Regions from separate parts of the Homo sapiens genome. Here all the other regions are linked to region 4. The links are contacts of gene promoters, found by promoter capture Hi-C in blood cells and fetal thymus (Javierre and others, 2016). All regions are on one chromosome and are shown on one strand. The core of a region is centred on a gene start or on the middle of the fragment in contact, and the rest is flanking DNA. Distances in the headings are between cores, read along the strand shown. Region 1 has its middle 13 kb from the start of ST3GAL6. Region 2 has its middle 3.3 kb from the start of OR5K4. Region 3 overlaps DCBLD2 (discoidin, CUB and LCCL domain containing 2). Region 4 holds the start of CPOX (coproporphyrinogen oxidase). Region 5 overlaps ST3GAL6 (ST3 beta-galactoside alpha-2,3-sialyltransferase 6).

Region 1 (2,700 bases), core at 32-2,531, 160 kb before region 4:
TCATCAATAATAAAATGACAATGAACAAAAATGTTTTGCTTAAGGTTGTAGTTTCCAAAAACCTATTAATGACATTAAATGAGAATGTACTGTACTGAAAGGCATTAAAGAAAAACAAAATCAGCTGATGTGCTGAATTGTAGATTACAGAGAATTTTTTTAAGTACATAAATGTTTCAATTTTCAAAGAAACTGAAAGTGCTTATTTTCATATATCTCTATATACATTTCACTTTTGAAGTGTTAAGTAGCAAACCCATTTAGAAATCAAGAGAAAAGCAAAGGAGTGCTGTTTAATGCCTACTATTAGAGAAGTCTTCACCATGAGACAGAATTTTGAACCTAAAGAAATTATGGATCATGATATATTTGTGCCTCAGGATTATTCTCTCCTTAAATGTATAGAAAGTATAGTTCCTGAGTTTCCATCATCTTCTATCCACTATTACTTATTACTAAAGAATCCATCACAATTTTAAAGTTGGAAGGGTCCTTTAAGATTATTCAGTCTGGGACGAGCGCAGTGGCTCACACCTGTAATCCCAACTACTCGGGAGGCTGAGGCAGGGAGAATTCCTTGAACCTGGGAGGCAGAGGCTCCAGTGAGCCAAGATCATGTCACTGAATTTCAGCCTGGGCAACAGAGCGAGACTCCATCTCAAAAAAAAAAAAAAAGATTATTTAGTCTGGATAAGTTGGTAAAGAAACCTCAAGCACTGTCATACTGGGGGAAACAGGGATTTAGTTACACCTGGGGAAGCTTAAATCAAGGAAGGAAACAAGACAGCCTAGTCACAGGCTTGAAGGTCCTTCATGAAGAGGATTTTACTTGGTTCTGATGGCTACCAAGCAGTTATGCCAAGGCCAGTGAATGCAAAATTCAAGGAGTTAAGTTTGAGCTCAGTACTAGGAAGACCTTGCTAATATTTGGACTGCCTAATACAGGATGCATTCTTGGAAAGTGGGTCACACATTACTAGTATGTTCTAAAGTCCATTTGGCAGGAGTGGGCAGAGCAGTGCTTAACAAACTTTAATAGCCATTGGCATCACCTGAGCATCCTGTTAAGTTGCTCATTCTGATTCAGCATGTCTAGGGCAGGGCCTGGTTATCTGCATTTCCAGCAAGCTCCCAAATCATGCAAAAAAAAAAAAAAGAATGCCAGTGCTGCTAGTCTGAAGCCCCTGCTTTGAGTGGCAAGAATTTAGGGTGAACAGGAACATTCGAATGTTACTTAAACCAGGGTTTCCCAAAGTATGGTCACTGTACAGAGTCTTCTAACTACATTATTTCAAAAGTCTTCAGCCCTGATTTTGAGGCAGATGATTAATAAATAGGTTAAGTGGTTATTAGCAGAGTTTTGTGAGTCCACACATTCAAATGTCCAAAAACATGTTATATCCTATACCCCCAAGGTCATACCCCAACCAGTAATTAATTTTGCACAATTCTAAAGAAGAGATGTTTCACTTCCATAGAAGAATGGTGACCTTATTCTGAGCTTGGAAAGTACTTAAAACTAAGTAAATGTGCTCTGATGAAGAAAAGAATGAATGAATTTGTGATTTCAGTATACTACCATTAATGAAAATGCAGAATGCAAGAAAACATGGCTCTAAAGTAATTTTTCCAGGGATTTCTGTTAAAAAAAAATCATGTGTCTCTGAACGGGGCAGGGAAAGTCCCCTAAGGCCACAATTTGCAGTCTTCTTTTTCATTGTAGGGCTTTACATTATATTCCTAGCCCTGGAATTTCACCTCCCAACCACCTATACAAACTATAAGAATTTCTTAAAAGCTTTGAAGGTACTCGTTTATTGCTTGGTCATATTTTGCTCTGCTCCTCAACTGATCCAATAGATTTGGGCTTTCAATCAGTTCAAAACTCTCTGATGTCTTTCTTGGAGCAGTATGCTGATATCTGAATACACAGCCCTTCCTTACACTTGAAAGCATTCTTATGTTTTTCTCCCAGGGTAAATAAAACTACAACTAAGGGGGAACAAGTTTCTGTCTTTCCTGATTCTAAAAGTCCCCCTTCCAAAGAGTTTACTGTTTTAGTTTGCTTAAAAGTTATAAATAACATTTCATCTGATATTTGAAAGTTCTGTTTTCAAATACTTATTATGCCAATTTATTCTGAATAAGCCTGGATTATTCTGGCCCTTAGGAAATATCCTCTCCAATCTGATTTTTTTCCCTTACCTTTTCTGCTATTTTTAAAAGAAAGAAATGAGTTAGCTTAAGGGTGAACAATCAGATGAGCATATACCAAACCTTAAAATTCCCGTGTTGAAACTGTCCTGCTCTCCACAGCAAATGAAAATGTGACAACACATATACCACTATCAATCAGATGATTTCCTAGAGCTAAGTTACAAATATGAGGTGAATCTTAATTTAGGGCAACTTATAATTTATTATTACAAATAAATCAATACATATGATAGATTTTTTTATGAAATGAAACAATCCTAGATTTATTTCCTAAAACCAGTGGATTGATCCTTAAGGCAAAGTGAATTTCAAAATCATTTCTTGCTAAATTTAACTCTGAATGTTTTCACTTTCTAGGGTAACTTTGTTGATTTCTTCAATAAAGAATTTCTCACTGACTACTCTGTGCTGGACACTGTTTTAGGCTTTGGAGATACAGCAGCGAAGAAGAAAAACAGTTTACAGTTCATCAAGAAAGGCAGA
Region 2 (2,700 bases), core at 73-2,572, 240 kb after region 4:
GAGAATTATTAAGTGGCTAAAATTTAAAAACAATAAAAATACTGAAGTATATTAGAAAATTTATATTCTGCATTTTGATACTATAATATAAATAAATTAGTAAATAAAATTAAGTCCTCATATTTTGAGTTCACTGAGAAACATTTTATAGTAGCTGACTGGTCTCCTGATGTTTTTTCTTTGTAGGGAAATTAAGAATAAAAACATTGGTTTTTAAATCATTAGGGAATAAATTATAAAAATCTAGGACACTCCCTACCAATAGGTTAGTGACAATAGTTATGCAAGTCTCAGGCAAAGTTAAAGTTTTCTATTCTAAAGGGACTTCCTCGGCATTGGCATCAGAGTGTTTCTGCAGAGACTCTAATCTGATGAGCATGGTTCCCCCAGCACCAGTAAATCAAACAGCATATAAAGATGGATGCATTTTGAGATTCGGAAGTTAAATCAAAATTGCTATCACTAAAAACAGCTTAAGGTTCATCTTGATTTTTCACATACTTGGAAACTCTCTCTTTCTCTTACACACAGACACACACACACACACACACACACACACACACACACACCCCTTGATTACCTGAAAACTATGATGGAGAGAAAAAGATTTACATTGATCAGTTGAGGTGGAAGTTAAACAGAGATTTGAAGAGAGATTTGTATTTGTGGACAAGAGGCAAAAATGTGGCAGGATCACCCAGGGTTGTATTCCTTTCTTTTGCTCCCCAAATTAATCTGGTCAAATCTTGTACATTCATCCTCTGAAGTAAGTCTGACATTATGTTCTTCAGTTTCACTTATTTGTCATAAGGTAACTTTAAAAAACTTAATTGAGGTATGATTTATGTGCAAAAAGCTATACACATATAATGTATACAACTTGATAAATTGGGACATAAGTATACACCCACAAAACTATTACCATAATCAATGCCATCATCATAAGATAACTTACTTGTTAATTGGTCTCCTATCCCCATCTTTTCTCTAGTGTGTAGATATGCTCTTATGCATTAGAAATATTTTTGGCTTCTCATTAGTCTTCAAACCAAGTTTTGTCCTTTATCTTGGTACTCCAAGGGCTCCATACAGAGGGCTTATATCACTTAAGGCTATTTTCTACCATTCACCTTTAAGAATCCATCTCCAGAGACACGCCTATAACTTATCTATTCCTTGATGTGTTAGAGTTTAACCTTGACCTCAGAATATTTACTCAGAATCTACTCTTCACATGAAATGCCCTCTTTGATTTATTCTTCTATCCAAATCTTACTCAATTTTTATGAGATCTGATTCTCATTATGAAGACATCCTCAACTTTCTGATCTGCAAGATAATGACTGTTTGTGTGATGCAAAGAGCTCTTAATTGTACTTCACTCCTGTGTTCATTCAGCTGTTCTTCATGTGCAAGTTTTGTTTATTCTTAGATTGATTTTCTTTTTGGTTTTCCACACTGCAAATCCCTCATAGTTCCAGAAAATGTAGGCCGTCGGTGAATGCTTATTGAATTGCTTGCAGAAATTTCAATTAAATTAACTTCAACATTATAGAGTGACTACAATAGAGAAGTCATGGAGTAAGACATTGCGCAAGGAGGGGTATGTGGTAGGAGTGAGTTAGGGCAGGAACCTGAATAGATAAATAAGAAATAATCCTGCCCTTAGAGAGCTCCCAATCTAGAGGATAAAATCACTTATACAATGATATAATATAGAAACTCAGGCTGAGTTAAGTATTACAAACTGAACTATAAGCAAGGTATATGAGAACACAAAGAAGGACTTAGAGAACTAAGAGAAGACATTATACAAAATGACATTTCTCATGATTCTTGAAGGATAAATTAAATTTCAATAGGCAAGAAGAATGTGTAGCAAAGAATTACAGGTTGAAGGAGCGGCATGATTAGAAGTAAAAGCATGGAAACTTGAAAGCACAAAGCATATTCAGTGAATGGAGAGTGAACCAGAGTAGCCAGAGTCTGGGCTCATGACAGGAAGGAGTTGGAGGTTCTCATCGCCACTCTCTCACTAAGATCACTACTCAACTCCTAATTACCACACCTAAAGCATTTTTTTAAATTATTATCTTAACTAATTAATTTTATGATTTGGCACCATTGACCACACTCTGAAGCATATTTGCTTCTCAGGCTTCTGTGATTTAATGCTTGTTTATTGCTACATCTCGGGCTGTTCTTTCTCCATGTTTTCTCTTAGATCCTCTTTTCTTCCTTTCCTCACACGCACAAATTCCTTAAAATAAAAGTACAACCTTGGGTACTTTTACAAAATTATGGCACTTTGTTTTAAATACTAGACACTAATTTAGAAAAGGCTTGCCTGATATTTAGCCAGTAAATCACCATACTCTCTGATGTCAATCAGTTGTTTTGTAAGAAAATTAAAAAGTGTAAGCAAATTAAAAATTTTTAAATTTGAAAAACAAGTTCAAATTTCTCTTAAAATATGTGGAATATTTTTATGAAGGTGGAAACATTGTGTTTCCAAATTTTTTAAAAAATAAGCAAACATGAGAGTTTTTAGTATGTTATCAGATAATTTTTGCCCAGAGTATTATATGAGGATATAGAAAAACATACTAAACATGTTTCAAGATTTTATCTGTGTTGCACAATTTCATATTGATAGTAGTTACAGTTCACTTAGTTAAATATCATACTGACATCAAAGGA
Region 3 (2,700 bases), core at 96-2,595, 240 kb before region 4:
CCCGTCCGGGAGGGAGGTGGGGGGGTCAGCCCTCCGCCCGGCCAGCCGCCCCGTCTGGGAGGTGAGGGGCGCCTCTGCCCGGCCGCCCCTACTGGGAAGTGAGGAGCCCCTCTGCCCGGCCAGCCGCCCCGTCCGGGAGGGAGGTGGGGGGGTCAGCCCCCCGCCCGGCCAGCCGCCCCGTCCGGGAGGGAGGTGGGGGGGTCAGCCCTCCGCCCGGCCAGCCGCCCCGTCTGGGAGGTGAGGGGCGCCTCTGCCCGGCCGCCCCTACTGGGAAGTGAGGAGCCCCTCTGCCCGGCCAGCTGCCCCATCCGGGAGGGAGGTGGGGGGGTCGGCCCCCCGCCCGGCCAGCCGCCCCGTCCGGGAGGGAGGTGGGGGGGTCAGCCCCCCGCCCGGCCAGCCGCCCCGTCCGGGAGGTGGGGGTGTCAGCCCCCCTGCCCGGCCAGCCACCCCGTCCGGGAGGTGAGGGGCGCCTCTGCCCGGCCGCCCCTACTGGGAAGTGAGGAGCCCCTCTGCCCGGCCAGCCGCCCCGTCCGGGAGGGAGGTGGGGGTGTCGGCCCCCCGCCCGGCCAGCCGCCCCGTCCGGGAGGGAGGTGGGGGGGTCGGCCCCCTGCCCGGCCAGCCACCCCGTCCGGGAGGGAGGTGGGGGTGTCGGCCCCCCGCCCGGCCAGCCGCCCCGTCCGGGAGGGAGGTGGGGGGGTCGGCCCCCTGCCCGGCCAGCCACCCCGTCTGGGAGGGAGGTGGGGGTGTCGGCCCCCCGCCCGGCCAGCCGCCCCGTCCGGGAGGGAGATGGGGGGGGTCAGCCCCCCCGCCCGGCCAGCCGCCCCGTCCGGGAGGTGAGGGGCGCCTCTGCCCGGCCGCCCCTACTGGGAAGTGAGGAGCCCCTCTGCCCGGCCAGCCGCCCCGTCCGGGAGGGAGGTGGGGGGGTCAGCCCCCCGCCCGGCCAGCCGCCCCCTCCGGGAGGGAGGTGGGGGTGTCGGCCCCCCGCCCGGCCAGCCGCCCCGTCCGGGAGGGAGGTGGGGGGGTCGGCCCCCTGCCCGGCCAGCCACCCCGTCCGGGAGGGAGGTGGGGGTGTCGGCCCCCCGCCCGGCCAGCCACCCCGTCCGGGAGGGAGATGGGGGGGTCAGCCCCCCCGCCCGGCCAGCCGCCCCGTCCGGGAGGTGATGGGCGCCTCTGCCCGGCCGCCCCTACTGGGAAGTGAGGAGCCCCTCTGCCCGGCCAGCCGCCCCGTCTGGGAGGTGTGCCCAACAGCTCATTGAGAACGGGCCAGGATGACAATGGCGGCTTTGTGGAATAGAAAGGCGGGAAAGGTGGGGAAAAGATTGAGAAATCGGATGGTTGCGGTGTCTGTGTAGAAAGAAGTAGACATGAGAGACTTTTCATTTTGTTCTGGATCTCAAATTTCATAACGCATGGGCCCTTTTCACCAAAAAATAATTTCCATGGGTTCCAATTGAGTAGCATTAACTGTGGAACTAACGTTCCATGTTATACAAATTTCATCCACAGACTTCCACCTCTGGCAATTACTAACTGGTACCAGATCTACCCTCCTCTGCCACTGTAAACAATCAGAAAACTGAGCAAAATATTGGAGGCAACCATTTTCAGGCAAGGGACAACAGGCAGTGCAGAACCAGAGCACCTGCCGGCAGGGAAGCAGCTGGTAAATATGTGGATACATACAAAACAGCAGCTTTTCTTTTGTCCTCTTAATTTCCTTAAGATGCAAGTGGCTATTTAAAATAATAATATTGCAAGGTGAGGTTTACATACACACACACATACACACACACACAGGAGGACTGATTTATTACTATAAAATGGTGAAATCTATACATAAGTTCAAAAGAATTTAGATTCTCCTCAATGTGAATAAACAAAAATTTAAAAATCTTAAAAAAAAAAAAAAAGAAAGAAAGGAAGGAAGAAAGAAAGAAAGAAAGAAAAATTCATCTCCTCCCCTCATATAAGCACCAAATAATTATAGTAGCATATGGAGTGGCCAGGCGTGGTGGCTCACGCTATAATCCCAGCAGTTTGGGAGGCCAAGGTAGGTGAATCACCTGAGGTCAGGAGCTTGAGACCAGCCTGGCCAACATGGTGAAACCCTGTCTCTACTAAAAATACAAAAATTAGCCAGGCATGGTGGCACGTGCCTGTAGTCCCAGCTACTCGGGAGGCTAAGACGAGAGAATCGCTTGAATCCGGGAGGCAGAAGTTGCAGTGAGCCGAGATTGCACCATTGCACTCAAGGCTGGGCAACAAAAAAGAAACTCTGTCTCAAAAAAAAAAAAAGAAGAAAAAAAAATAGCATACGGAGTGAGAGGATGGATAAGTGAACCTGGCACATATTTGGTGCTCAATAGATGTTTACTGAGTGAAGAATAATTAAATGGCAAGAAAATAGTTATCTTAGAAGAACAAATGAGAAGGGAATCATTTCTGGCTGGGGACACCCAGGAGTTGACATTTGAATTTGACCTTGAACAGTGGGTAGGATGCTTTTGGTGATGAGAAACCCATTCTAGGTAAGGGAGGAATGCCAGGAAAGAGTAGGGACTTAAGAATGTGCGAGTATGCCGGGCGCGGTGGCTCCTGCCTGTAATCCCAGCACTTTGGGAAGTTGAGGCGGACAGATCATCTGAGTTCAGGAGTTCGAGACCAGCCTGACCAACATGGTGAAACCCCATCTCTCCTAAA
Region 4 (2,700 bases), core at 180-2,679:
ACAGTTGTGTGTGGACAAGATGCCAATTGATCTGACTCAAAAGCCATTGAAGTTCCATCAGTGCATCCTGCCACAAAGAAAACACTTGTGGGAAAAGCTACCAGTGGCTTAAATTATTATCTACTACTAGAAATTAAAATCATCCCGGAGACTTATGGGACAAATTAGCCCATGACAATAGTTCTCACACTTTTACGTCCAGGAACCATGGAGCTGTGGTATGGTTACAGGGGAGACAAAGACCTGCCTGTCAAATCTATTAGCTTCTTTCCTCATTTCTTTAAAGGGTGGGGGAAGGGAGACAGAGTAGGAGGAAGTGTGGATATTTGCCTTGCCTAGTTTGTAGCAGTTGTTGTAAGTATTAAACGTGAGCAATATTTGGGAGCACCCTACAGTAGTAGAATAACTATTTTTTAAATTCTTATTTGTTAATCACCAAAACACACCAAGTCAGGAATTTTCTACTGGTTAACCAAAACAGTCACGTTGCTTTTCCTTTTTCTAAAATAATCAAGTAGGCACTATAGAAGCAAGGCCTGGGGAAACCTTTTTTTTTTTTTTTTTTTTCTGAGACAGAGTCTCACTCTGTCACCCAGGCTGGAGTGCAGTGGTGCGATCTCGGCTCACTACAACCTCTGCCTCCCGGGTTCAAGCGATTCTCCTGCCTCAGCCTCCCGAGTAGCTGAGCCTACAGGTGCACGCCGCCACGCCCGGCTATTTTTTTGTAGTTTTAGTAGAGACAGGGTTTCACCATGTTGGCTGGTCTCGAACTCCTGACCTCATGTGATCCAACCGCCTCGGCTTTCCAAAATGCTAGCATTACAGGCTTGAGCCACCGCGCCCGGCCCCAGCCTGGGGAAATCTTAAGGACAGAACTGTGATGTGGACTCGATCACAGAAAGTCTTCTCCTCGACTCTCTTCCGAGTCCATTACTAGCTTCTCCCACTCTCTTTAGAAAACCATCCTTCAGCAAAGAGTTTCCCAGCCTGCCCATCCCCTCTAAAAACTCTAGAGGACCAGGACCCAGGGCGAAGGGCGGGTCTATACAGATCCTGAGCCAGGCTCTGTATTCGCAAATCCTGTTTGAAAATGTAAGCGGGACTGGGATCTCTGCCACATTTCCGCCCCAGTCCGCCCTCAGCCTCCCAGCCCTACTCTATCTTCTCTCCTTGGCTGAGTAAACAGCCGACCCGAGGTTGTACGTGACAAGAAAGCCTCTTTTATCTCTCCCGTCCCTTCCACAGCACCGTCCCCGCCCCACTCTCTTCCCTTCGGACCAGCCCTTCTGGGCGCGTCGGATTCTTATCTCCCGCCCCGCGCAGGGACGCCGCAGGCGGCGATAGGATCCGGACTACAGCTCCCAGCGCGCCCCAGTTCCCGCCCCCGCCTCCGGAGCCCGACGCTGCAGCGGCTCTTCTCGAAAGGTTCTTTCCGCCTGTGCAGCTCGCCGGCTCAATACTCCGGGGGTCTGGGTGGGGGGCTCAAACGCAGGGCTCTGGGACGCAGGCACTGCTCCAGGTGATAGTGCGGGAACATGGCCTTGCAGCTGGGCAGGCTGAGCTCGGGCCCCTGCTGGCTCGTGGCGCGGGGCGGCTGCGGAGGGCCCCGCGCCTGGTCCCAGTGCGGCGGCGGAGGGCTCCGAGCCTGGTCCCAGCGCAGCGCAGCCGGACGCGTCTGCCGGCCCCCTGGCCCGGCTGGCACGGAGCAGAGCCGCGGGCTGGGGCACGGCTCGACGTCGAGAGGCGGCCCCTGGGTGGGGACAGGGCTGGCCGCGGCGCTGGCGGGGTTGGTGGGGCTGGCCACCGCCGCCTTCGGGCATGTGCAGCGGGCGGAGATGTTGCCTAAGACCTCGGGGACGCGGGCCACTTCGCTGGGGAGGCCGGAGGAGGAGGAGGATGAGCTGGCCCACCGCTGCAGCAGCTTCATGGCCCCGCCTGTGACCGACCTGGGCGAGCTGCGAAGGAGGCCGGGCGACATGAAGACCAAGATGGAGCTGCTGATTCTGGAGACCCAGGCCCAGGTGTGCCAGGCTCTGGCACAGGTAGACGGGGGCGCCAACTTTTCTGTGGACCGGTGGGAGAGGAAGGAAGGTAAGGAGGCCGGCCCCTGGCGGGAGTTGGAGACAGGGAAAAAGGGTCAGGTTCCAGGTTGCAGACAGAAAATATAATAGTTCACAATATGGGATGGGGTAGGTAGGGGGTACCCACAGAGAGGCCGCTTGGTTAGAGGCCGCTGATAAAAAGATGGACACGAAAGGGTCACTAGCCCTCTGCTTGCAGGTATGGACCCGGATCAGCTGTCACTGTAGTACTGCATTTCAAAATCTTTGCAATTCCGTAGCAGCATTTTTTTGTAGAACTCTTAAGGGGTATTTGCAGCTAACAAGCTTAGATGTCCAAAGTTCGTTACTGAACATAAATTTCAATAGATTATGGAACACATTTTCTCTCCTTCTCTGGGTGAATTTGCCCTTTTTCCTCTTTAGGAGATGGAAAGAACTCATCTCCTGTGCGCTAAGTGTCGGCTAAACTCCTCCAGCCAGGATGTCATTGTGTCAGAATCTTCCCACTTCTTTTTACTGTTACACAAGATATATTTGATTCGTTTCTCAGTAGCACTACCAAATGCACGCATCAGATTTCCTGCTAGGAAAATCTTCTCTTCCAATATCAAAATACTTGAGCATCAAAACCCAGTTC
Region 5 (2,700 bases), core at 3-2,502, 170 kb before region 4:
TATTTCAAGTCAAAGCTATTTCAGAAGATACATATATCATCGTTCACCAAATATATTTAAACAAAGGAAACCATATGTAATATCTGTATTTTATCAATAATCTCTTAAGCAAGCATTTTAGGTTCCAAAAGTACCACTGAGCCCAGTAATTACGCCATTAACTCAAGGAGATGATCTATAGCATAAAGAAAGAATGTTATAACCCAAAGATGGTTAACACCATGGCTTCCCTGGGAAGTCAATAGAAAGTAGGTGTTGCTTGTCAACTTTTAAATTGTTCGAGATACAATCTATAGGATACTGGAATGGTAAAACCCCAATTTACAATGGAAAGCAAGAAAATATTCAAAATGGTACAAGTTTTTTTCATAGGACCCTCTACTATAATTTGTGGATTTGTGTGAAAGACTAGGTTGAGAGTTATTTTTAAATAACAAAATGAAACTTACCAATAGACATTCGTTCCCCATAATATGCAATGCAGTACATAATAGAGGAAGACAGCACTCAGGAATATGGCCACAAGATACCCTCTCATGGCTGGCTCACCTGAAACACAAGGAATGAAGTCCAAAGCAAAGGCCAGGTTGTTATACAAATGGATTTTCACAATGGCTCAAATATAAGCATTATTGGAAAAAATATACAAAAGGAACTATAGAAAAAAATGATGTGGGCATGTAATTTTGGAAATACTCACTAAACGTGCAGAAAGATAATGTTTTTTCTGTCTCTCCTTTTATCAATAAGCACAACATAATGTATGTTTAGGCCAATAAACAGTTCCACGGTCTCAAAGGTAGGGGCCTCCCCCTACTACTTTCTCATGGTAGGTAAGAAAGAAATAATTCCTTCAGAATAAAATTTTACACATCTATTCCATATCCAAAACTTTTTTCACAAACATTAAAACCTATCTATTTTCTCTCTCAGTAGAAAGTGAATAGATGCCTTAAACTGTGAATATTTCATTTCTTCAGTGCTTGAAATGATGTTAAAATGTTATACATTATAATTTTTACAAGTCATTTTCTAATTTTTAACTGAGGAAAAAAGCTACTGAAAAAACATTTCCCTCATCCTCAATTTTTATATACTTTTAGATCCACCTATTTGATTTTTCCACATCACAGTTCAGGTATATTCAGCTACTTGCTTGTTTTGTATTAAATTGACAATATTATTCATTACACATTTGCAGACAGACAAAAACCTTGACACAATCCTCTCTAAAATGTAAATGCAAAAAAAGCCTTTATAGAATATATTTTAAAAACCTATAAAACATGTTTGGTTTTCTCTTTTGCTTCAAAGGAAAAAAGGAAAAGTTTCCATTGTCTTATGTAATTAAATGTAAAAGACAAATTTAACATATGGTTCCATAATAGACCTATTTCAACGCCTGTGACTTTAAACAGGTACACTGCTTCTCTGTCTCCCTTATCAAGTTTCTAGTTCGTCTAAACAACTGCATGTGCCACTCCTTTCACTCCTATCCATGCCTATTAACCTCAATCATGGCGATGCAGTATAGAACCTGGGAGTCTGGTTGAATAAATTTCCAAATAATATGGCATTGCCTTCTTTTTAATGGTAAATATGTTCAAATGGAAATCTTAAAATAAACCACTCCCTTTGCCTTCATAAGTAGAATATACTAAACATAATTTAAACTTTTCTTGATAATATGGGGTCAGCTCAACAAATATAATTGTTCTGGGCTTTCTTACAGTTGAAACCCTCTGCAGCTAATGGGTGTGTGGGGCTATTTGCTAAGCAGTCCTAAACTGGCATGATTATCTGGTTGAGTTGCTTTTCACTCCTCCCTTGCTGTCAGCTGTTGGTTCTTGCTGCTATTAATGCAGTCACCACCCCCACATGCCACTATTCTAAATTAGTTAGAAATGAAAACTATGTCAGGAGAAAGCAAATAAATAAGCAAGTTAATGAGCAAACTTTAGTTCACACATACTTCTAATTAGGTATACATAATCCCTGTGAAGAGTCAACACTGGTTGGAAATCAGAAGACAAGATTCACAGCCTAACTCTACATATGGTGTGGGGACCCTAAGGTAAATCAGTCTACCTCTTCTGACCTGAGGGTCCTCATGTGTTTACAAGTGAGAACACACCATCTACCTCTTTGGGTTATTAGATGGTCCTGGAAGGCAGTTTACCATGGGCCAAAATAGTGAGGAACATCTTATTAAATGCTCAAATCAAACATTTAAGGCTCCACTAAGAATAACTTCATTTGGCTGGGCGCAGTGGCTCATGCCTGTAATCCCAGCACTTTGGGAGGCTGAGGCAGGTGGATCACGAGGTCAGGAGTTCAATACCAACCTGGCCAAGATGGTGAAACACCGTCTCTACTAAAAATGCAAAAAAATTAGCCGGGCGTGATGGCAGGCACCTGCAATCCCACCCATTCAGGAGGCTAAGGCAGAGAATTGCTTGAACCCAAGAGGCAGAGGTTGCAGTGAGCCGAGATCACGCCACTGCACTCCAGCCTGGGCGACAGAGTGAGACTCCCTTTCCCAAAAAAAAAAAAAAAAAAAAAAAAAAAAAAAAGAATGACATTTATGCAAAGATCCAACAAGGATAAAACTTACCAGTATCAGCAAAATTTTTTAATGTATTTACATCTAAGACAGTATATGAAGGTCTAGGGAAAGAAGTCAGTATTTACAAGTCAAAA

What was found. Contacts are between HindIII fragments. The CHiCAGO score rates a contact against its expected background, and 5 or more counts as called.
Region 1: a contact is called between a fragment that was not itself captured here and the fragment with the promoter of CPOX in region 4, in 1 of 17 cell types (fetal thymus). The highest score is 6.3, in fetal thymus.
Region 2: a contact is called between a fragment that was not itself captured here and the fragment with the promoter of CPOX in region 4, in 3 of 17 cell types (naive CD8 T cells, total CD8 T cells and activated CD4 T cells). The highest score is 5.6, in naive CD8 T cells.
Region 3: a contact is called between a fragment that was not itself captured here and the fragment with the promoter of CPOX in region 4, in 3 of 17 cell types (neutrophils, fetal thymus and monocytes). The highest score is 12.2, in neutrophils.
Region 5: a contact is called between a fragment that was not itself captured here and the fragment with the promoter of CPOX in region 4, in 1 of 17 cell types (megakaryocytes). The highest score is 5.3, in megakaryocytes.

What each region holds. Positions count from the first base shown.
Region 1 is chr3:98,749,020-98,751,719 of GRCh38, reverse strand. It overlaps a transcript of ST3GAL6 not described here. Among named protein-coding and RNA genes, the nearest start is that of ST3GAL6, 13 kb to the left of the region's middle. The HindIII fragment of the contact is 1,038 bases long and covers 763-1,800 here.
Region 2 is chr3:98,349,182-98,351,881 of GRCh38, reverse strand. No RefSeq gene overlaps it. Among named protein-coding and RNA genes, the nearest start is that of OR5K4, 3.3 kb to the left of the region's middle. The HindIII fragment of the contact is 6,090 bases long and covers 1-2,700 here.
Region 3 is chr3:98,835,149-98,837,848 of GRCh38, reverse strand. All of the region lies in intron 3 of DCBLD2 (discoidin, CUB and LCCL domain containing 2), which reads left to right. Among named protein-coding and RNA genes, the nearest start is that of DCBLD2, 65 kb to the left of the region's middle. The HindIII fragment of the contact is 7,617 bases long and covers 1-2,700 here.
Region 4 is chr3:98,592,340-98,595,039 of GRCh38, reverse strand. It overlaps CPOX (coproporphyrinogen oxidase), which reads left to right and starts at 1,429. Exons shown (of 7, transcript NM_000097.7): 1 at 1,429-2,091. The coding sequence starts at 1,536. RefSeq lists an enhancer at 891-940 and a silencer at 1,441-1,890. The HindIII fragment of the contact is 5,536 bases long and covers 1-2,389 here.
Region 5 is chr3:98,766,279-98,768,978 of GRCh38, reverse strand. It overlaps ST3GAL6 (ST3 beta-galactoside alpha-2,3-sialyltransferase 6), which reads right to left. Exons shown (of 10, transcript NM_001323368.2): 2 at 450-549. The coding sequence starts at 538. Among named protein-coding and RNA genes, the nearest start is that of ST3GAL6, 4.3 kb to the right of the region's middle. The HindIII fragment of the contact is 3,601 bases long and covers 1-2,700 here.